Linked DNA regions of Homo sapiens: all the other regions are linked to region 1. The links are contacts of gene promoters, found by promoter capture Hi-C in blood cells and fetal thymus (Javierre and others, 2016). All regions are on one chromosome and are shown on one strand. Each heading gives the region's core, a stretch centred on a gene start or on the middle of the fragment in contact. The rest is flanking DNA. Distances are from core to core; before and after follow the strand shown.

Region 1 (2,697 bases), core at 72-2,571:
CTCCGCCTTAGGAAAAAAAAAAAGAATTCAATCCCAGTCCAGTCAGGTTAACTGTCTTCCAAGAATTTTTTTCTTTTTTAGACAGTCTCTCGCTCTGTCACCCAAGCTGGAGTGCAGTGGCGCGATCTCTGCTCACTGCAAGCTCTGCCTCCCGGGTTCACGCCATTCTCCTGCCTCAGCCTCCCGAGTGGCTGGGACTACAGGCGCCCACTACCAGGCCCAGCTAATTTTTTGTATTTCTAGTAGAGACGGGGTTTCACCGTGGTCTCGATCTCCTGACCTCGTGATCCGCCCGTCTCGGCCTCCCAAAGTGCTGGGATTACAGGCGTGAGCCACCGCGCCCAACCAAGAATTTTTTTTTCTATCCTTTTTTTCCTTCTTTTTAAAGAGACAGGGTCTCACTCTCGCCAAAAATGGAGTGCAGTGGTCCGATCATAGGTCACTGCAGCCTCGAGCTTTTGGGTTCCTCCCGCCTGGGCCTCCCAAAGTGCTGGGATTACAGATGTGAGCCACTGTGCCCAGCCCCTTGCAATAATTTAATCTGAGATTCTGACTCCAAACGGCATGCTTTTATTTCATTTATTCATTCATTCACTCAACAAATATTTACTGAGCATCCACTACATACTATGCGCTGGAGATGCGATAGTAAAGGAGGCTCAGAACAAGCCCACTGCTGTCCTAACATACCACCAAGCAAGCTGTAACCTACTGTAAGGCCCCAAACTATTTCACCTCCCTAAAGCTCAGGTTCGTCATCTGTAAAATGGGGGTAATATAATGCCTAACTGGCATGATACACAGTGCCTGGCGTTCGTGAATGGCAGAAACAACCACTAAAACAACTCATTACAAAGGACTAAGAAACGTCTCGGGGGCCAAGAAGGCTAAGTCACTCCCAGGAAGGGCCCAGCCTCTGCCAGCCCCCGACTCCGCGGACTTGGGGCACTCTGCCCGCGCGCCCGCACTATGTTGGACACACTCGCCACCTCCCTCGATAGATCGAACACCATTCCCTCTTTCGTTGCCCCGGGGGATCTCCCAGCAGCTATCAGTGGGAGACGCTCACACACCCCCAGACCCCCGCCACCCCGAAGACTGGACTGAAGGAATCGCCCAACGGTCCAGGCCAGGCGGCCACTGCCTTTGTCCACTGGGAAAGCAGATCCGGGAGCGGTCGCCCCGGTGCCACTACTCCTCACTCTGTGTTCACCTCACTGTAGAAGGTCATAAATGCTTCCTCGGTGCTGCCTCCGCCGCCTGAAGTCCCGCTCTCTCCTGAAGCCGCCATTTCCCCGGCCCAGCCACCACGTGACCCTTCTGCGCAGGCGTCGCCTCACGTGATTCTTACAGGTCCGCTCCTCTAGCCCCGCCTCCCGTCTGAGAGGTTCTTAAAGGGCTCGCAGCCCAGCCAGGCACTTTAAAAGTAGGTGGGCTTTTTAAAATTTAAACGAATTACACATAACATATAATTAACCACTTTAAAGTAAATAATGTGCTTAAGTTATTGTTAGGTAAAAAATAATAAGAAGAATAAAAGAAAAAGTGAATAATTCAGTGGGTTTATTTATTTATTTATTTTTGAGACAGGATCTCTGTCGTCCAGGCTGGAGTCGAGTGGTGCAATCACAGCTCACTGCAGCCTCGACCTCCCAAGCTCAAGCGATCCTCTCACTTCAGCCTCCCGAGTAGCTGGGACTGCAGGCGCGCGCCACCATGCCCGGCTAATTTTATGTACTTTTGTGGAGACGGGGTCTTGCCATGTTGCCCAGGCCTCCCAAAGTACAGGAATTACAGGCATGAGCCACCGCGCCGGACCGGCTCAGCTGTCTTCAGAACATTCACAATGTTCTGCAACCACCATGTCTACCTGGTTCCAAAATAGTTTCATCACCTCAAAAGGAGACTTAGTATCTACTTTTTTTTTTTAGACGGAGTCTCACTCTGTCACCCAGGCTGGAGTGCAGTGGCGCCTCCCCGGTTCCAGAAATTCTGCCTTAGCCTCCCGAGTAGCTGAGATTACAGACAAACGCCACCATGCCCCGCTAATTTTTATATTTTTAGTAAAGCCGGATGTTCACCATGTTGGCCAGGATGGTCTACGATCTCCTGACGTCGTAATCCGCTCGCCTTGGCCTCCCAAAGTGCGGGGATTACAGGCGTGAGCCACCGCGCCTGGCCGAGGAGACCTAGTACCTATTAAGCAGTTACTCCCTATTCGCCCCCTCTCCCCAGTCCCTGAAAACAAGCAATCTGTGTTCTATCTATATGGATTTACCTATTCTGGATATTTCACATAAATGGAGTTAAACAATATGTGAATACGTATTTCACATAAATGGAATTAAACAAAATACCAGGTAGGGCTGCTATTTTCTCAACTAAAATATAATCAATAAAGCCAGTTTTACTATTTCATAGAAAACAAAGAAGGTTTTGTTTTGTTTTGTTTTTTTGAGGCAGAGGCTTGCTCTGTTGCCCAGGCTGGAGTGCAGTGGCATGATCTTGGCTCACTGCAACCGCCGCCTCCCAGGTTCAAGCAATTCTCCTGCCTCAACCTCCTGAGTAGCTGAGATTACAGGCGCATGTCACCACGCCCGGCTGATTTTTGTATTTTTAGTAGAGACGGAGTTAGTCAGGCTGATCTCGAACTCCTGACCTCATGATCCATGCGCCTCGGCCTCCCGAAGTGCTGGG
Region 2 (2,697 bases), core at 142-2,641, 470 kb before region 1:
AGAGATTGAGGTACACTGATTAACCTCTGGCAAATACTTTTTTCTCCTGAACCAAGTTTCAAGCCCTAGAGCTTCCTGTTGTTTTCCACCTCTAGAATTGTTCATCTCTTTCTGACCCTCCACATTGTCTGCCTTAGCATCTGCACTTACTCTGCATGAAAAATAGCTTATATCCTGTTTGAAACATCCTTCTTGCACTGATTTTTTTTTTCTTTAGGCCAAAAACCGAGAGCTCCTGAAGCAGGCAGCTGCTTTGTCCAAGAGCAAGAAGTCAGAGAAGTCAGGAGCTATAACCTCTCCATGACAGACCTCAAGGAGGCTCCCTAGCAACAGCAAATGGAGTTGTCCAGGGTTAGGGTTGGAGACCTGGCTGTTCTGTGGGAATTGCAAGCTTTCTTAAGAAATCTCTATTTTATTACAGTTATCCTTCTTTGTGCGATTGCAGTGGGCTGAATGGAAACACCTGGTTTGTGCTGTGTTAGACTGCATGCTTGAGTGTTTGGGATTTCAAGCTCGCTCTCTTTCTCTCACTATTAGGACTTTTCTTTTTCTTCTTCCTCTTCTCTCTATTTTGGTTCTATTCTTTTTTTTTCTTTTTTCTTTTTTTTTTTTTTTTTTTTTTTGTGGTGGTCACTGCTCAGTGTAATGTGCAGAATGATTTGTTTTTTGTTTTTTTTTTTTTTTTTGGTCCTTCATTGCATCCTGCCATACCCATGAGCAAACAGTTTGGCATTAATTATATATCACTGCCACCCTCTGAACTTTGAAAACTGCCATCTTCAGACTTGGTATAATGGAAGAGGCTTTCTCTCTCCAATAAACCTTTTGCTTCAGGGTATACTCTTCGGTTTTTTTCCAGATGTATTATGTATGAACTTTGTACTATGTATAGCCAGAGTTTTATTTATTTTTTAAAAAAGAAACTTTTTCTTGATAAAGGAATAATGGTGGTCTAGCTAGTTCTTGTAAAAGTGATGCCTCTTGAAAAAAAAACAGTCCTATTCACTAGCTTTTAGTAAAAGAATCAGATCTTTTCTTTCTTGTTACCTTGGAGTCTTAAAAACTGATTGCTAAGGTGAAACAATTCAATGCATAAGTATGGAGCTAAGTGCCTTTTGGAGGATTTCTTGGAAGAGCATTTATGGAGATACTTAAGGGAGGTAGCAAAGATTTGAACCGTCTGTCTTTTTAAGTAAGGGCAGAAAGCAAGGTTGTCCAGGTTGTACTGGACACTTCTCTCCCCACCCCTTTCCTGATTGTTTTATGTGATTGATTTTAAATTCTCACACTGCCACTTCTTTAAAAAATAAAATCCTTTATTTGCTTATATCAGTTGTCATACTGGGCTGCTGTCAGAGAATGTTTTTTTACATGAATGAACAGATTAAAAATGGAATAATATGGTCGGGTGCGGTGGCTCACGCCTGTAATACCAGCAATTTGGGAGGCCAAGGCGGGTGGATCATTTGAGGTTAGGAGTTTGAGACCATCCTGGCCAACATGGTAAAACCCCATCTGTACTAAAAAAATACAAAAATTAGCCGGGCCTGGTGGCATGCACCTGTAATCCCAGCTACCCAGGAGGCTGAGGCAGGAGAACTGCTCGAATCCCGGGAGGCAGAGGTTGCAATGAGCTGAAATCGCAACACTGCACTGCAGCCTGGGCAATGGAGTGAGACTCCGTCTCAAAAAAAAAAAAAAAAGGAATAATATTTGAACTACAGAGCATTTTTGGGGTCAGCATGAGCTGCTCTAGTAAGGACTCTTGAGTCTGGGAAAAGTGGTATCACTATACCTTCTCCCCACTCCTCACCCACCCGAGCCCATACACTCCCTGCTTTTCATGGATATGTATTGAAAACAGGTGCTTCTCAGAAGCACTTTGCCTCAACCAGAGTTATGTATGCCCTGCCTATCTTCCCTTCTTAACCCTGTAGGAATATGGATTTACTTTTCCAGGAAAGGGGATAGATTTACATTTCTAGGCATACTCTCAGGTCCTCTATGTGATGTTTGTGAAAGGAATTAGGGTGTGTCATGTGTGCCATGAAACAACAAAACCAACTACCCTAGAATCATTTATGCAGGGGGTACTAGAGTTAGAAATAATAATGAGGGCAGATAACATTTGTACCTCAGTCTACCAAAAAATTATAGTACTAAATTTAACTTCTAGGCGTTTCCTGGAAGCAGATGCTCTATAATTTGTGATAGCATTCTCATAAATGGAGTCCTACACATAATTGGACAGAGATGTGGAAATGGTGGTTTCCTTCTGATAAGGGATACAGTGGACCATGTCGCTTATATATCACCCTACTAGGGGATATAATTTTCCCTTCTAAGCAAGGGAAATGGCAGTGCTAAATAGTTTTGTAAAGTTTTTGAATGAGAAGCTTTTAGGTAAAGATAAACTGTCATAATATTTTTCAGATGCATTTGCATTGACTATGGGAGAAAAATTAGGGGGAAATGACAGTCATGGTGTTTTTTTTTAATTTTAAGGACTGAAATTCTGTTACATGATGTATGACAATATAAAAACATACTTAGTTTTATACTAAATCTTTTTTTAAGGTCTTGGCATTTAATATAAAGCAAATTCACACGTTTTCTAACTTTCCATAAGTTCCAAAAAGGGAAAGAAGAAACCTCAGTCTTGAAATTTTGATTTTTAAAAATCATGACACTGTTTTA
Region 3 (2,697 bases), core at 122-2,621, 430 kb before region 1:
CATACTCTGTTACATTAACATCTGTTGGTCTATATTATACTTTGATTGGATCTTTTATCCATGCATGATTTTTATAGCATCATGTATTTATCATTTGGATAGTATTGGTTCCCTGAGTTATGCAGCTCTTCCAAATGTCGATACATTTCATTTTACAATATAAAAAAATACATATTTCCATCAGTTTCACCAGAAAAGTATTTAAATATTGGGAAACTCTTACAATGGTAGATACAAGTCTTCCGAAATTTTATTTTTATTTTTACTTGAAAGCTACATTTTTGTCATTGGCAACAAACACCCTCTGTTGTTTTCCTTGAAGTGACAGGCTCATACTTCTTTTCAACAAGTTGTCTGCCAAATACCCATCTGAAAAGTTTATATGTATACGTTTATGAAAGTTTTAAAGCTTTTAAATAAGTTTTTAGTAAGTTCTTATAAAACTATATTGAATAAGTAAAAATGGTATTCCCTAAAAAAAGTGGCTAGTTCAGCCTGCAGTTCCATTACACAAGTGCTTTTCCTAGAGACAGACATTGTATTTCTTTATGCAGCAGAAGTACTTTATGTGCACTTCCCATTTCACAATACAGAATAGTAGAAAGATATGTATTGAGGGGTCAAGGTTTAATTAATAATTTGTATGGCTTCAAGAATACATTGGCTTTTAAAATACGGTGAGTGTGTGGTGATGAAGAATACAATAATACTAGTGCAATTCGGTGCCACTGCCTTCAGCCATTTTATCTATCTGTATTAGTCCATTTTCACACTGCTATAAAGATACTACCTGAGACTGGATACTTTATAAATAAAAGAGGTTTAATTGACTCACAGTTCTGCGTGGCTGGATAGGCCTCAGGAAACTTACAACCATGGTAGAAAGCTAAGGGGAGGCAAGGCATGTCTTACATGGTGGCAGGAGAAAGAGAAAGAGAGTGCAGGGGAAATACCAGACACTTACCAAACAACCGGATCTCATGAGAACTCCCTCACTAACACGTGAACACTAACACCCCCATGATCCAATCACTTCCCACCAGGTCCCTCCCTTCGCACGTTGGGATTACAATTCGAGACGAGATTTGAGTGGGGACATAGAGCCAAACCATATCACTACCATTGCCTTTTTTTAATTTTTAATTTTTGTGGGCACATGGTAGGTGTATATATTTATGAGGTACATGAGATACTTTCATATAGTCATGTAATGTGTAATAATTACACCATGGTAAATGGGGTGTCTATCCCCTCAAGCATTTATCCTTTATGTTACAGACAATTCAATTATACTCTTTTAGTTATTTTTGAATATATAATTAAATTATTATTGACGATAGTCACCCATTTGTGCTATCAAATACTAGGTCCTATTCATTCTTCCTATTTTTTGTGCCCATTAACCATCCCCACTTCCCCGCCACCAGTCCCCCACCATTGCTTTTGCTCCGTCCTGTTGATATTTACACTCATGGAGCAAATAAACACGTTAGTATTATTTTGAGTAATGGTCAAACAAATGAAAAGGTACTCAGCTTCTTTAGTAATGGTGAAATTACAGATTAAAATAACAATGAAATACTATTTCATGCCCACCAGGAGGGCAGAAGTTTAAAATTCTGTGAACACTGGGAGTTGTCATTATGGATATGATGCAACAGGAACTTTTTTATCTGGCCGGTGGTATAAGTTAGAACAACTACTTTGGAAAACATTTTGGCTGTATCTTCAGAACACATGCAGACCTTGTGATCCAGCAATTCTACCCTAGAGAAACCTGTATGTGTTATACCAGGATGTATGTACAAGAATGTGCATAGCAGCATTGTTTGTAGTAGTCAAAAATTGGAAACATCCAGATGTCTGTCAACTGTAGAATGGATAAATTGTGTTATGTTCATATACTATAATATCATACAGCAAAGAAAATGATTGAACCACAGTTACATTCAGTATCAGAGATGGATCTGGCATAATCTGGAATGATTCAAAAAAAGCACTAAAGAATATAAACAGTATAATTCCATTTATGTAAAGTTCAAAAACAGGCAAAATGATATTGAATAAGAATATAGCTCACTATTCTTAAAATGCAAGAAAATGATTTTCACAAAGTCAAGATAATAGATACTTTAAAAGGGAGGGATGGAGTTGTGATTGGAGAAGGGCACATGAGTAGGCTTTTAGGACTCTGGCAATGTTATTTCTTGATCTGGGGAAAAAGATAAAGTAAAAAGAAAAAAACAAACCAAAAACCCACAGTGTTCCTCTGAGTGGATAGAAATTTGAAATTCTTTTCATTTTGCTTGTCCTGTATTGCTATTATAAAAAGGGTAAGCTTTTTAAAAATGAAAATACATTGATTTTTACCATTTTTGCTTTGTTTTTTATTTATTTATTTATTTATTTATTTATTTATTTATTTATTTATTCTGAGAGGGAGTCTCACTCTGTCACTCAGGCTGTAGTGCAGTGGCACGATCTTGGCTCACTGCAACCTCTGCCTTCTAGGTTCAAGCAATTCTCCTGCCTTAGCCTCTCGAGTAGCTGGGATTACAGGCACCCACCACCATGCCTGGCTAATTTTTGTATTTTAGTAGAGACGGGGTTTCACCATGTTGGCCAGGCTGGTCACAAACTCCTGACCTCAAAGTGATCTGCCCACCTCGGCCTCTCAAAGTGCTGGGATTGGGATTA
Region 4 (2,697 bases), core at 102-2,601, 400 kb before region 1:
GAAAAATTCTTCTGCCTTGGGATCCTGTTGATCTATGACCTTACCCCCAACCCTGTGCTCTCTCCACTCAGGGTTAAATGGATAAAGGGCAGTGCAAGATGTGCTTTGTTAAACAGATGCTTGAAGGCAGCATGCTCATTAAGAGTCATCACCACTCCCTAATCTCAAGTACCCAGGGACACAAACACTGCGGAAGGCCACAGGGTCCTCTGCCTAGGAAAACCAGAGACCTTTGTTCACTTGTTTATCTGCTGACCTTCCCTCCACTATTGTCCTATGACCCTGCCAAATCCCCCTCTGCGAGAAACACCCAAGAATGATCAATAAAAAAATAAAAAATAAAAAACCAGAGGCCCTGCTAATGGTCTCTTAAAACCAGCTGGTGATCTAGGGCAAGCGAGCAATCCTTATGCTTCCTTGCCCTATAACCAAAAGCAAAAAATCCTTTTTAAAAAAATTAACCATTTGAGCCAAGCACAGTGATGATTTGGACCCCTGCTTTCTGACTGGACCTGCTCCTGGCTCCTGCTTGTCCAGAGTTTTCATAAACAGACTAGGTGACCCCTAATGCAGATTCCCTGACAATCTACAGGCCTAAACGTGAATTAGAAAAAAGTGAGTAGGGTGCCACTTTTTGGAGAAGGGCTGAAGAGAAACAATAATCACTCCAATCTCCGAGTTTTGCCCTTTAGCTTCTCCGCTTTGAGGGCAAAAGGCTGACGGTCTTAACCTAAACTCTGGAGGAGGATGTAGTCCCCAGATTTTTTCTTTCTTTACTTTTTTTTTTTTTTTTTTTGAGACGGAGTCTCGCTCTGTTGCCCAGGCTGGAGTGCAATGGCGCGATCTCGGCTCACTGCAACCTCTGCCTCCCGAGTGCAAGCGATTCTCCTGCCTTAGCCTCCCAAGTAGCTGGGATTACAGGCATGTGCCACTACACTCGACTAATTTTTGTATTTTTAGTAGAGACGGGGTTTCACCATGTTGGTCAGGCTGGTCTCAAACTCCCGACCTCAAGTGATCCGCCCGCCTCAGCCTCCGAAAGTGCTGGGATTACAGACGTGAGCCATCGCGCACGGCTTAGTCCCAAGATTTTAGAGCCAAGAAGCGTTTGCAGGAGGACGTAGGGAAAGACTGACTCCCCTCCCTACAAAGCCCCTTTTCCTTTGACACCTCCTGGCCAAGGAAAACCCTAACCACTGGAGACTTCCAGAGACGGCCAACTCGCACAAACGCTGAAAAAAAAAAAATCCCAAAAGCTCCTCTGTCCCCACTAGAAGCACCGCCCCCCGTACGGGCGTGCGTGAGCGTGCGTACGCACAGGCTGCTGGGATGCCGCTTTTCCCTTCTCGGTCTTCCAGTTTCCCGGCGTGCTTAGGGCGCGCCAAATGGGAGGGGGAGACGCAAGATGGCGGCAGCCGCGAACTCCGGCTCTAGCCTCCCGCTGTTCGACTGCCCAACCTGGTGAGTGGCGGGGCGGCCAGGGCTAGAGTGGCCCGGCCGGAGCTAGCCTGGGCTGGAAGGGCGGCTCTTTTTTTACTTTTCTGCTGCGAGCCGAACGGCTCAGAAACCCCGGAATGGTTGAGGAAAAACTGTTTGCTGCACCGGGCCGGGCGACGTGTTGAAGAACCGAGAGCCTGGAGCCCAGGCCCAGGAACTGAAGAAACCCGGGGTTGGGGGCTCAAAGGCGCTCACTTAGGCAGCCCCTTTGAGCGATTAGCCAGTCGCCGGAGCGCTTCGAGGCCTTGGCCCGAACTTACGCCCAACTCTTGACTGAGTGCCTGGTGCTCTCGTGGAGCATCGCATCTGGCCCCTTCCTGTACGTCCCGAGCGCGCTCGAGCCAGCCCCGGCCCCAACCCTACCTCCAAGCCCCGCATCCCTCTGTGGTTGCTGCATCCCTCGTGCGGCACTTGTCTGTCTGCCACAGAGAATACGAGGGTAGGTTAGCGCCATCCCTGCCCTCAGGGAGCTCCCAGTCTGTGGCACTAGTAGGCATTAGTAATGGTTGGCATGAACCCTTTTTATCCCTTCGAAAGTTCTTGGGAATAATGAAATAATTTAATTTGGTCTTTGAGTAGGGTACAAGTTGAATAAATATGAATTACCTTACAAGGAAACGCTTCTGAATTAAGAGTTTTTTTCTGCTGTAGCTCATCGCAGTGTATTGTTTGTTGCTTGTCTCTGTCTCCCGTTGTATTGCCATCCTCAAGGGCAAAGACTGCATCTTTGTATTCCCAGCTCCTAGGCCTGAGTCAGGCACATAGTAGGAATTCAGAAAGTATGTTTTGGATGTAACATTCCTCCTTTTTCCTGGACAAAATGGCCTTTTGTCCGGTGCATTGTCCTTTCCATAGAGGAGGGGTTGGGGCAGGATTGTGAGATGACTGTGTTGAATCTTCAGTTAGCTAGACAAGGATACGTTTTTTCATGTGCAAATCTAAAGGTTCTAGTGAGGTGGTTCTTTTTTCTAACTTCAAATTAGCAAACCCAAAAAGCAAGCAAATGTGTGGCTATTTTCTGGATCGCTTTGCACTTTTGTAGTAGTTGCTTCAGTCTACAAATTCTGTATCCATTTTGATCCCTCGCTGTATTGATTTCAAATTTGGGCCGAGATAGCAAACATAGTTAGAAAGCACTGTTTTTGAGATCACCTACCCTTTCCTTAGGATCTGGTAGGTACCAGGCACCGTTAGGTGCTT
Region 5 (2,697 bases), core at 77-2,576, 380 kb before region 1:
CCCCCCGCCCGGCCAGCCGTGCCGTCCAGGAGGGAGGTGGGGGGGTCAGCCCCCCGCCCGGCCAGCCGCCCCGTCCGGGAGGTGAGGGGCGCCTCTGCCCGGCCGCCCCTACTGGGAAGTGAGGAGCCCCTCAGCCCGGCCAGCCACCCCGTCCGGGAGGGAGATGGGGGGGTCAGCCCCCCCACCCGGCCAGCCGCCCCGTCCGGGAGGGAGGTGGGGGGGTCAGCCCCCCGCCTGGCCAGCCGCCCCGTCCAGGAGGGAGGTGGGGGGGTCAGCGCCCCGCCCGGCCAGCCGCCCCGTCTGGGAGGTGAGGGGTGCCTCTGCCCGGCCGCCCCTACTGGGAAGTGAGGAGCCCCTCTGCCCGGCCAGCCGCCCCATCCGGGAGGGAGGTGGGGGGGTCAGCCCCCCCGCCCGGCCAGCCGCCCTGTCCGGGAGGGAGGTGGGGGGGTCAGCCCTCCGCCCGGCCAGCCGCCCCGTCTGGGAGTTGAGGGGCGCCTCTGCCCGGCCGCCCCTACTGGGAAGTGAGGAGCCCCTCTGCCCGGCCAGCCGCCCCGTCCGGGAGGGAGGTGGGGGGGTCGGCCCCCCGCCCGGCCAGCCGCCCCATCCGGGAGGGAGGTGGGGGGGTCAGCCCCCCGCCCGGCCAGCTGCCCTGTCCAGGAGGGAGGTGGGGGTGTCAGCCCCACGCCCGGCCAGCCGCCTCGTCCGGGAGGGAGGTGGGGGGGTCAGCCCCACGCCCGGCCAGCCGCCTCGTCCGGGAGGGAGGTGGGGGGGTCAGCCCCCCCGCCCGGCCAGCCGCCCTGTCCGGGAGGGAGGTGGGGGGGTCAGCCCCACGCCCGGCCAGCCGCCTCGTCCGGGAGGGAGGTGGGGGGGTCAGCCCCCCCGCCCGGCCAGCCGCCTCGTCCGGGAGGGAGGTGGGGGGGTCAGCCCCACGCCCGGCCAGCCGCCTCGTCCGGGAGGGAGGTGGGGGGGTCAGCCCCCCCGCCCGGCCAGCCGCCCTGTCCGGGAGGGAGGTGGGGGGGTCAGCCCTCCGCCCGGCCAGCCGCCCCGTCTGGGAGTTGAGGGGCGCCTCTGCCCGGCCGCCCCTACTGGGAAGTGAGGAGCCCCTCTGCCCGGCCAGCCGCCCCGTCCGGGAGGGAGGTGGGGGGGTCGGCCCCCCGCCCGGCCAGCCGCCCCATCCGGGAGGGAGGTGGGGGGGTCAGCCCCCCGCCCGGCCAGCTGCCCTGTCCAGGAGGGAGGTGGGGGTGTCAGCCCCACGCCCGGCCAGCCGCCTCGTCCGGGAGGGAGGTGGGGGGGTCAGCCCCCCACCCAGCCAGCCGCCCCGTCCGGGAGGGAGGTGGGGGGGGTCAGCCCCCCTGCCCGGCCAGTGGCCCCGTCCGGGAGGTGAGGGGCGCCTCTGCCCGGCCGCCCCTACTGGGAAGTGAGGAGCCCCTCTGCCCGGCCAGCCGCCCCGTCCGGGAGGGAGGTGGGGGTGGTCAGCCCCCCCCGCCCGGCCAGCCGCCCCGTCCGGGAGGTGAGGGGCGCCTCTGCCCAGCCACCACCCCGTCTGGGAGGTGTGCCCAACAGCTCATTGAGAACGGGCCAGGATGACAATGGCGGCTTTGTGGAATAGAAAGGCGGGAAAGGCGGGGAAAAGATTGAGAAATCGGATGGTTGCCGTGTCTGTGTAGAAAGAAGTAGACATGGGAGACTTTTCATTTTGTTCTGCACTAAGAAAAATTCCTCTGTCTTGGGATCCTGTTGATCTGTGACCTTACCCCCAACCCTGTGCTCTCTGAAACATGTGCTGTGTCCACTCAGGGTTAAATGGATTAAGGGCGGTGCAAGATGTGCTTTGTTAAACAGATGCTTGAAGGCAGCATGCTCGTTAAGAGTCATCACCAATCCCTAATCTCAAGTAATCAGGGACACAAACACTGCGGAAGGCCGCAGGGTCCTCTGCCTAGGAAAACCAGAGACCTTTGTTCACTTGTTTATCTGCTGACCTTCCCTCCACTATTGTCCCATGACCCTGCCAAATCCCCCTCTGTGAGAAACACCCAAGAATTATCAATAAAAAAATAAATTAAAAAAAAAAAAAAAAAAATGAGTGTCCTCATCAGGACAATACCTTCCTCTCGTTTTAGTGAAGATGGTACTGTTGGTAGTGGTGAACAATCACTAAGCACCTGCCTACCTACCTACCATGTATCCATTTACAGCACGTCATCTAATTCTCATAGCCCCAAGAGGAATTCTGTTTTTATCCCCATTTTATAGATGAGAAAACTGAGACTGAGACTAAACAAACTTCCCTATGAGCCCCCTGTACTGAAGACAGGATTGAAACTCTAGTCTGAATCCAGAGTTTAAGGTGGGGATATGCTTGGTCCATAGGTGGCACACCCTTTAGTTTTTGTATTTTTAGTGGAGACGGGGTTTCACCATGTTGGCCGGGCTGGTCTCGAACTTCGGCCCTCAGGTGATCCAACTGCCTTGGCCTCCCAGAGTGCTGGGATTACAGGCGTGAGCCACCGAGTCTGGCCTGTTTTGTAGTTCTTTAAAAGATGTCCAAACTGAACAACTTACTGGAAGTGTGTTAAAGTATGTTAGATATAGCTGAGATGAAGTCCTTCCTGATGAGAAGGTTATGCCATGCATTTTTTTTCTTTTTCTTTTTTTTTTTTTTTGAGACAGAGTCTTGCTCTGTCACCCAGGCTG
Region 6 (2,697 bases), core at 149-2,648, 360 kb before region 1:
GTCCAACTTGGCCTCCCAAAGTACTGGGATTACAGGCGTGAGTCATTGTGCCCAGTAATTTTTTTGTATTTTTAGTAGAGACAGGGTTTTGCCATATTGGCCAGGCTGGTCTTGAACTCCTGACTTCAGGAGATCTGCCCGCCTCACCCTCCCAAAGTGCTAGGATTATAGGCGTGAGCCACCGCGCCTGGCCTTATTTTATTTTATTCTTTTTTTTAAGAGACAGGGTCTTGCTAGTTTGCCCAGGGTGGTCTAGGACTCCTGGTCTCAAGTGATCCTCCTGCCTCAGTCTCCCAAAGTGCTGGGATTACAGGCCACACCCAGCCTCTTCTCCCTGTTTTTTTGTTTTTGTTTTTGTTTTTTGAGACGGAGTTTTGCTCTTGTTGCCCAAGCTGGAGTGCAATGGTACAATCTCGGCTCACTGCAACCTCTGCCTCCCAGGTTCAAGCGATTCTCCTGCCTCAGCCTCCCGAGTAGCTGGGATTAGAGGTGTGTGCCACCACGTCTGGCTAGGTTTTTTTGTATTTTTAGTAGAAACGGGTTTTCACCATGTTAGTCTGGTCTCAAACTCCTGACCTCAGGTGATCCACCCGCCTCGGCCTCCCAAAGTGCTGGGATTATAGGCGTGAGCCATTGCGCCCGGCCCTCTTCTCCCTGTTTTAGAGAGTAAGAAACTGAGGTTCACACAATCAAAGTGATTTGCCTAACGTCATACAACGAGCAAGAGGAGACCTGGGATTTGAACCTATGTTGGTCTGACTCCTGAGGGACAGGGAAATGGAAAAGGCTTATCCCGAGCCTGTGGGGTCAGGATAAGTGGTTGGTCCGGCTTCTAAGCAGATTTCTCTTTAGCCTTAGGAAGAATTTTTAACTAGAATTGGTGAGGCCCGGCGTGGTGGCTCACAGGTGGATCACACCTGTGATCCCAGCACTTTGGGAGGCCGAGGTGGGAGGATCACTTGAGTCCAGGAGTTCGAGGCCAACGTAGACAATAATTATCGAAAGAGTATGGGAGTTCTGGAGAGGTAATGAGATCCCCTTCACCAGGAGGTTTCCGATAGAGGACCATGGAGTGTCCTGGAGGGACATTCGGGAGCCCTGACACTACATCTCCCTCCTCAAACCCAAAGGGCAGAGGCATGTCCCTCCTATGAGACGCAGAACAAGTCGGGCCGCGTCCCCTTTTTCTAACTGGGAGCACTGCTGAGGGGGCGTCTGGGACTTCTTCATCTTCATCATCGCCCCTTCCCCATAGGGTACTGCAGGGGGCGGGGGGCGGGGCTTCGGCGGGGCGGGGCTGCAGGGCTCCCGCGGGCTGGCGGGGCGGCTTCGGCGTGCGGGGCGGGGCATCGGCGGGGCGGGGCTGCAGGGCTCCCGGGGACCGCCCGCCCGCCCCTCAGTCTGAGCCCAGAGAGCCGCGGGGACCATGGAGCCGGTGCCGCTGCAGGACTTCGTGCGCGCCTTGGACCCCGCCTCCCTCCCGCGCGTGCTGCGGGTCTGCTCGGGGGTCTACTTCGAGGGTGAGCGGGGGCTGGAACCCCTCCGAGCACTCCCTTGGTGTGGGGCGGGGGCAGAGACCCGGAGAAGACGTTAGCAATCCGGGGAAACTGCCCCTGGGTTCAAATCCCGACACTGCCACTGGCCAAGCTGTGTGATTTGGGGCCGCACTCAACCTCTTTGGACCTCGGCTTTTGCTTTCGTGGAACGGGGACCGCTGACCTGCCCCGCAGGGTAGTGATGAAAAGTCAGTGGGTTGAGGCGCGGGAGGTGGATGCAGCCGGGCCACTCCTAGGTGGCCCCGCGGTGCGCATGGGACAGAGCTCCGACCGCGCCGGGACGCAGCATTAGGCCGCTGGTGGTCGTGGCTGCGTCTTGATTCTGAAGTGCAGGGTCAGTCTTCCCGTCTGTGTCCTCCCACTCCTCCCCCGGCCCTCCTCTACACTGCCTTCCTTCAGTCCCTGCGTCCACCTTGGCCTTCTGTTTGACCATGGGCAGTACTTGATTTGATCAGCTCTTCAGTTCTCAGCTTAAATGGCGCTTCCTCCCGGAAGCCTTCCTGGCTCTCTGCTCCTTGCACGCCCCCGTACATCTGCCGTCTGCCCGCAGCGGCCTGGTTCACAGGGATGGGCACACAGCAGGCGCACAGTCACTAGTCATTGCCTGAAGGAGCAAGCGGTGAGGGAATAACAGACAGTGGAGGGCAGGGTAAGACAGCACAGTGGATGGGTGGCCAGTGCTGCTCTGTGGGCAGGGAGGACCCGTGGGCCACCGAGTAGGGGAGATGGAGGTGGAGGAGAGAGATGCTGTGTGGGGGTGCGGGTTCCTTCCTTAGAGAGCGAACTGAGGCTTGAAGGCCCTGCCCCATCCTGTTCCCTGGCTGCAGAAAAACGCTCTGTCGCAGCAGCTTCCAGCAGAGTGTTTGAGGTCCCAAGTGGGGTCCTAGACCAAGGAGGTCCCTCATGAAGGGTCCCGCAGGGGGCCACCACCTCGCAGTGGGTCTCTCCAGGTCTGCTTGGGAATCTGGCAGATCTGGGTTCAAATTCTGACTCTACCTCCAGGGGCTTTCTGCAGGAAGGCGCCTGGGATCTGTTTGCTCTTCCCCCAGCCCAGGACCAAGCGTCTTCGTCCTCCCAGCACCCTTTGCCTGCTGGTGTTACAACACCTGTTTCCTCATCCTGCCTGACGCGGGATGGTGGA
Region 7 (2,697 bases), core at 104-2,603, 270 kb before region 1:
GGCGACCAGAGCACACTGCAGCGCTACTACGTCTATAACTCAGTCAGCTACTCTGCTGGGGTCTGCGACGAGGCCTGCAGCATGCAGCACGTGTGTGCCATGCGCCAGGTGGACATTGACGCTTACACCACCTGTCTGTATGCCTCTGGCACCACGCCCGTGCCCCAGCTCCCGCTGCTGCTGATGGCCCTGCTGGGCCTGTGCACGCTCGTGCTGTGACCTGCCAGGCTCACCTTCTTCCTGGTAACGGGTAACGGGGGCAGCGCCCAGGATCACCCAGAGCTGGGCCTTCCACCATTTCCTCCGCGCCTGAGGAGTGAACTGAAATAGGACAACCGAATCAGGAAGCGAAGCCCCAGGAGCTGCAGCCATCCGTGATCGCGCCACTGCACTCCAGCCTGGGTGACAAAGCCAGACTCTCTCCAAAAACAAACCAGAAACAGAAAAGAAATGACGACCCAAGACCCCCCTACAAGCATACTTCTTTTGCGTATTATGTTTAACTCACAAAACAAAGCTCATCATGCGTTTGATTCTGTGTTGTGTTCCTTTTCTTTTCTTTTGAGACGGAGTCTCGCTCTGTCGCCCAGGCCGGAGTGCAGTGGCGCTATCTCGGCTCTCTGCAACCTCTGCCTCCCGGGTTCAAGCGATTCTCCTGCCTCAGCCTCCTAGCTGGGACTACAGGCGCGCGCCAACACGCCCGACTAATTTGTATTTTTAGTAGAGACGGGGTTTCGCCATGTTTGCCAGGCTGGTCTCGAACTCCTGACCTCAGGTGATCCGCCCGCCTGGGCCTCCCAAAGTGTTGGGATTACAGGCGTGAGTCACCGCGCCCGGCCTCTATTCCCTTCCGTATGGAAATGAGGTTAACTCATTTGCAGGAACCTAACGCCCGCCCTCCCCCGACTCGGATCGCTGGCGTGAACCCAGCGGCCCCGTGCTCTCCGGGTATCCCTGGATCGAGGCGCACGCGTTGTTGCAAAGTCTCGCACTTAGGGATTAGAATGTGCCTTTGCGTTTCGTTTTGTTTTGCAACAATACAGGTGTGAGGGATCGCAGCCCTGGTCCAGGCTCTAGTCTCCCCGCCCTCTCGCTTTCTTGGGCCTCCGGGCGCCTCAAAGGTAAAACTAGGCCATTTGAAGCCTGCGAAGCGAAGGGCAGTCGGTCTTCAGGCCTAGCGGGCTTGGCTGGGCTGGGTCGGTGGACCCCTGGGCTGGCGGCGGGAGCAGAGCATCGAGCGGCTTTTAGCTGGGGTTCGGGCGGAGGACCTGGGACAACCGCGGGCCTCGCTCCTCCCCGGACGGGGCGGGACGGGGAAGTCCCGCCCACCAGGCCCAGGCCCCGGGCCGCCCCGAGGGCTGCGCCCACCTCCTTCCTGCCTCGGCAACCCCGGGCCCTGAGGGCAGGCCCCAACCGCGGAGGAGCAGGAGAGGGCGGAGGCCGGCGGGCCATGCCCTGGTCGTCCCGCGGCGCCCTCCTTCGGGACCTGGTCCTGGGCGTGCTGGGCACCGCCGCCTTCCTGCTCGACCTGGGCACCGACCTGTGGGCCGCCGTCCAGTATGCGCTCGGCGGCCGCTACCTGTGGGCGGCGCTGGTGCTGGCGCTGCTGGGCCTGGCCTCCGTGGCGCTGCAGCTCTTCAGCTGGCTCTGGCTGCGCGCTGACCCTGCCGGCCTGCACGGGTCGCAGCCCCCGCGCCGCTGCCTGGCGCTGCTGCATCTCCTGCAGCTGGGTTACCTGTACAGGTGAGTGCTTCGCCCCGGGAGGGGAGGAGTGTCGGAGCCCAGCACCTCCGTCAGCTGGGTCACCTGTACAGGTGACACGCCATATGCCGGGAAGGGGACTGGGAGAGGGAACCAAGTCCTGTGGGCGCCTGGCCTACAGGTGAGCGTGCAGCCCTTTACGGAAAGGGAATCCCGGTAGACTGCCTTCATTCTAGCCCTAGCTTTCCTGGCACAGGCGAAGAAACTGAGGCCCAGGGAAGAAAGGGAGGCGCATGGGCTTTGAAGTCGGACCTCTCAGGGATCCACTTCTGGCTTTGCCCCCTCTCGCCTCACTTCTGCATTTCTCTGAGCCTCAGTTTCCTCCTGCGTAGAAAGGAGGTAGTCACCCTGAGACAGGTGTGACGGGCAGGCCTGTTGTGAAGAGTGAGCGAAAGAATGAGAAAGTGCCTCGCACAGTGCCTGGCCTGTAATGGCAGGGGCTGCGGACTCAGTTCAGCATCCCATGTTTCAGCATGGGCAGGGCCTTGGGAAGTCACTGACCTCTCAGTGGGGCTGTTTGGTTGCTGTTCCCATTGGGATGGGGATAGCGCCTGCCCGTTTGGTGAAGATGCAGTGAAATGACATCTGTCCACTGCCCTGGCTCAGAGTGAGCACTCAGCAACCTCAGCTGGCTTCTTGACCTGGGCCTCCCTGGGAGTTTCAGCAGCCCTGACCCCACCACAGCGCTTGCCCCTCACAAAGGCCGCCTCTCACCCTGTCTGCCTGGTTGTATTCTTCCCCCTGAAACTTGGCTTCCCACCCCAGACCCAGCAAGAGGGCAGAGATGGCCTCTGACTCATCCATGCCCATGGAGCCAGCCAGGGCTGGGCATAGGCTGGGTCCTGGAAAATGTGTGTGGATTCTGCTCCTTTTTGGACCTGGTGGAGCCTCGTAGAGATGGGAAAACAAACCCAAGGCTCAGAGGCATGCGACAAA

What was found. Contacts are between HindIII fragments. The CHiCAGO score rates a contact against its expected background, and 5 or more counts as called.
Region 2: a contact is called between a fragment that was not itself captured here and the fragment with the promoter of DNAJC8 in region 1, in 1 of 17 cell types (M2 macrophages). The highest score is 7.6, in M2 macrophages.
Region 3: a fragment that was not itself captured here is called in contact with the fragment with the promoter of DNAJC8 in region 1 in 3 of 17 cell types (M0 macrophages, M2 macrophages and M1 macrophages); the score reaches 7.1 in M0 macrophages.
Region 4: the fragment with the promoter of PPP1R8 here is called in contact with the fragment with the promoter of DNAJC8 in region 1 in 2 of 17 cell types (M2 macrophages and M0 macrophages); the score reaches 9.5 in M2 macrophages.
Region 5: a fragment that was not itself captured here is called in contact with the fragment with the promoter of DNAJC8 in region 1 in 6 of 17 cell types (M0 macrophages, naive CD4 T cells, M2 macrophages and 3 more); the score reaches 8.5 in M0 macrophages.
Region 6: a contact is called between the fragment with the promoter of THEMIS2 here and the fragment with the promoter of DNAJC8 in region 1, in 3 of 17 cell types (neutrophils, megakaryocytes and endothelial precursors). The highest score is 7.3, in neutrophils.
Region 7: a contact is called between the fragment with the promoter of XKR8 here and the fragment with the promoter of DNAJC8 in region 1, in 2 of 17 cell types (neutrophils and endothelial precursors). The highest score is 9.4, in neutrophils.

Annotation. Positions count from the first base shown.
Region 1 is chr1:28,231,708-28,234,404 of GRCh38, forward strand. DNAJC8 (DnaJ heat shock protein family (Hsp40) member C8) reads right to left here and starts at 1,322. Exons shown (of 9, transcript NM_014280.3): 1 at 1,214-1,322. The coding sequence starts at 1,291. RefSeq lists an enhancer at 1,012-1,545. The HindIII fragment of the contact is 12,029 bases long and covers 1-2,697 here.
Region 2 is chr1:27,760,278-27,762,974 of GRCh38, forward strand. FAM76A (family with sequence similarity 76 member A) reads left to right here. Exons shown (of 9, transcript NM_152660.3): 9 at 218-2,697. The coding sequence ends at 304. Among named protein-coding and RNA genes, the nearest start is that of STX12, 12 kb to the right of the region's middle. The HindIII fragment of the contact is 2,005 bases long and covers 390-2,394 here.
Region 3 is chr1:27,805,926-27,808,622 of GRCh38, forward strand. The region is part of intron 4 of STX12 (syntaxin 12); the gene reads left to right. Among named protein-coding and RNA genes, the nearest start is that of PPP1R8, 24 kb to the right of the region's middle. RefSeq lists an enhancer at 1,266-1,789. The HindIII fragment of the contact is 1,929 bases long and covers 408-2,336 here.
Region 4 is chr1:27,829,431-27,832,127 of GRCh38, forward strand. PPP1R8 (protein phosphatase 1 regulatory subunit 8) reads left to right here and starts at 1,352. Exons shown (of 7, transcript NM_014110.5): 1 at 1,352-1,461. The coding sequence starts at 1,406. It overlaps LOC124903885 (a long non-coding RNA gene), which reads right to left and starts at 2,353. Exons shown (of 2, transcript XR_007065562.1): 1 at 1,319-2,353. RefSeq lists enhancers at 831-1,616, 1,490-1,659, 1,617-2,401 and a silencer at 1,280-1,359. The HindIII fragment of the contact is 9,216 bases long and covers 1-2,697 here.
Region 5 is chr1:27,853,030-27,855,726 of GRCh38, forward strand. No RefSeq gene overlaps it. Among named protein-coding and RNA genes, the nearest start is that of THEMIS2, 18 kb to the right of the region's middle. The HindIII fragment of the contact is 5,873 bases long and covers 1-2,697 here.
Region 6 is chr1:27,871,146-27,873,842 of GRCh38, forward strand. It overlaps THEMIS2 (thymocyte selection associated family member 2), which reads left to right and starts at 1,399. Exons shown (of 6, transcript NM_001105556.3): 1 at 1,399-1,520. The coding sequence starts at 1,427. RefSeq lists a silencer at 1,247-1,516. The HindIII fragment of the contact is 18,992 bases long and covers 1-2,697 here.
Region 7 is chr1:27,958,620-27,961,316 of GRCh38, forward strand. XKR8 (XK related 8) reads left to right here and starts at 1,354. Exons shown (of 3, transcript NM_018053.4): 1 at 1,354-1,743. The coding sequence starts at 1,451. It overlaps SMPDL3B (sphingomyelin phosphodiesterase acid like 3B), which reads left to right. Exons shown (of 8, transcript NM_014474.4): 8 at 1-533. The coding sequence ends at 219. RefSeq lists a silencer at 1,225-1,614 and an enhancer at 1,295-1,858. The HindIII fragment of the contact is 19,385 bases long and covers 1-2,697 here.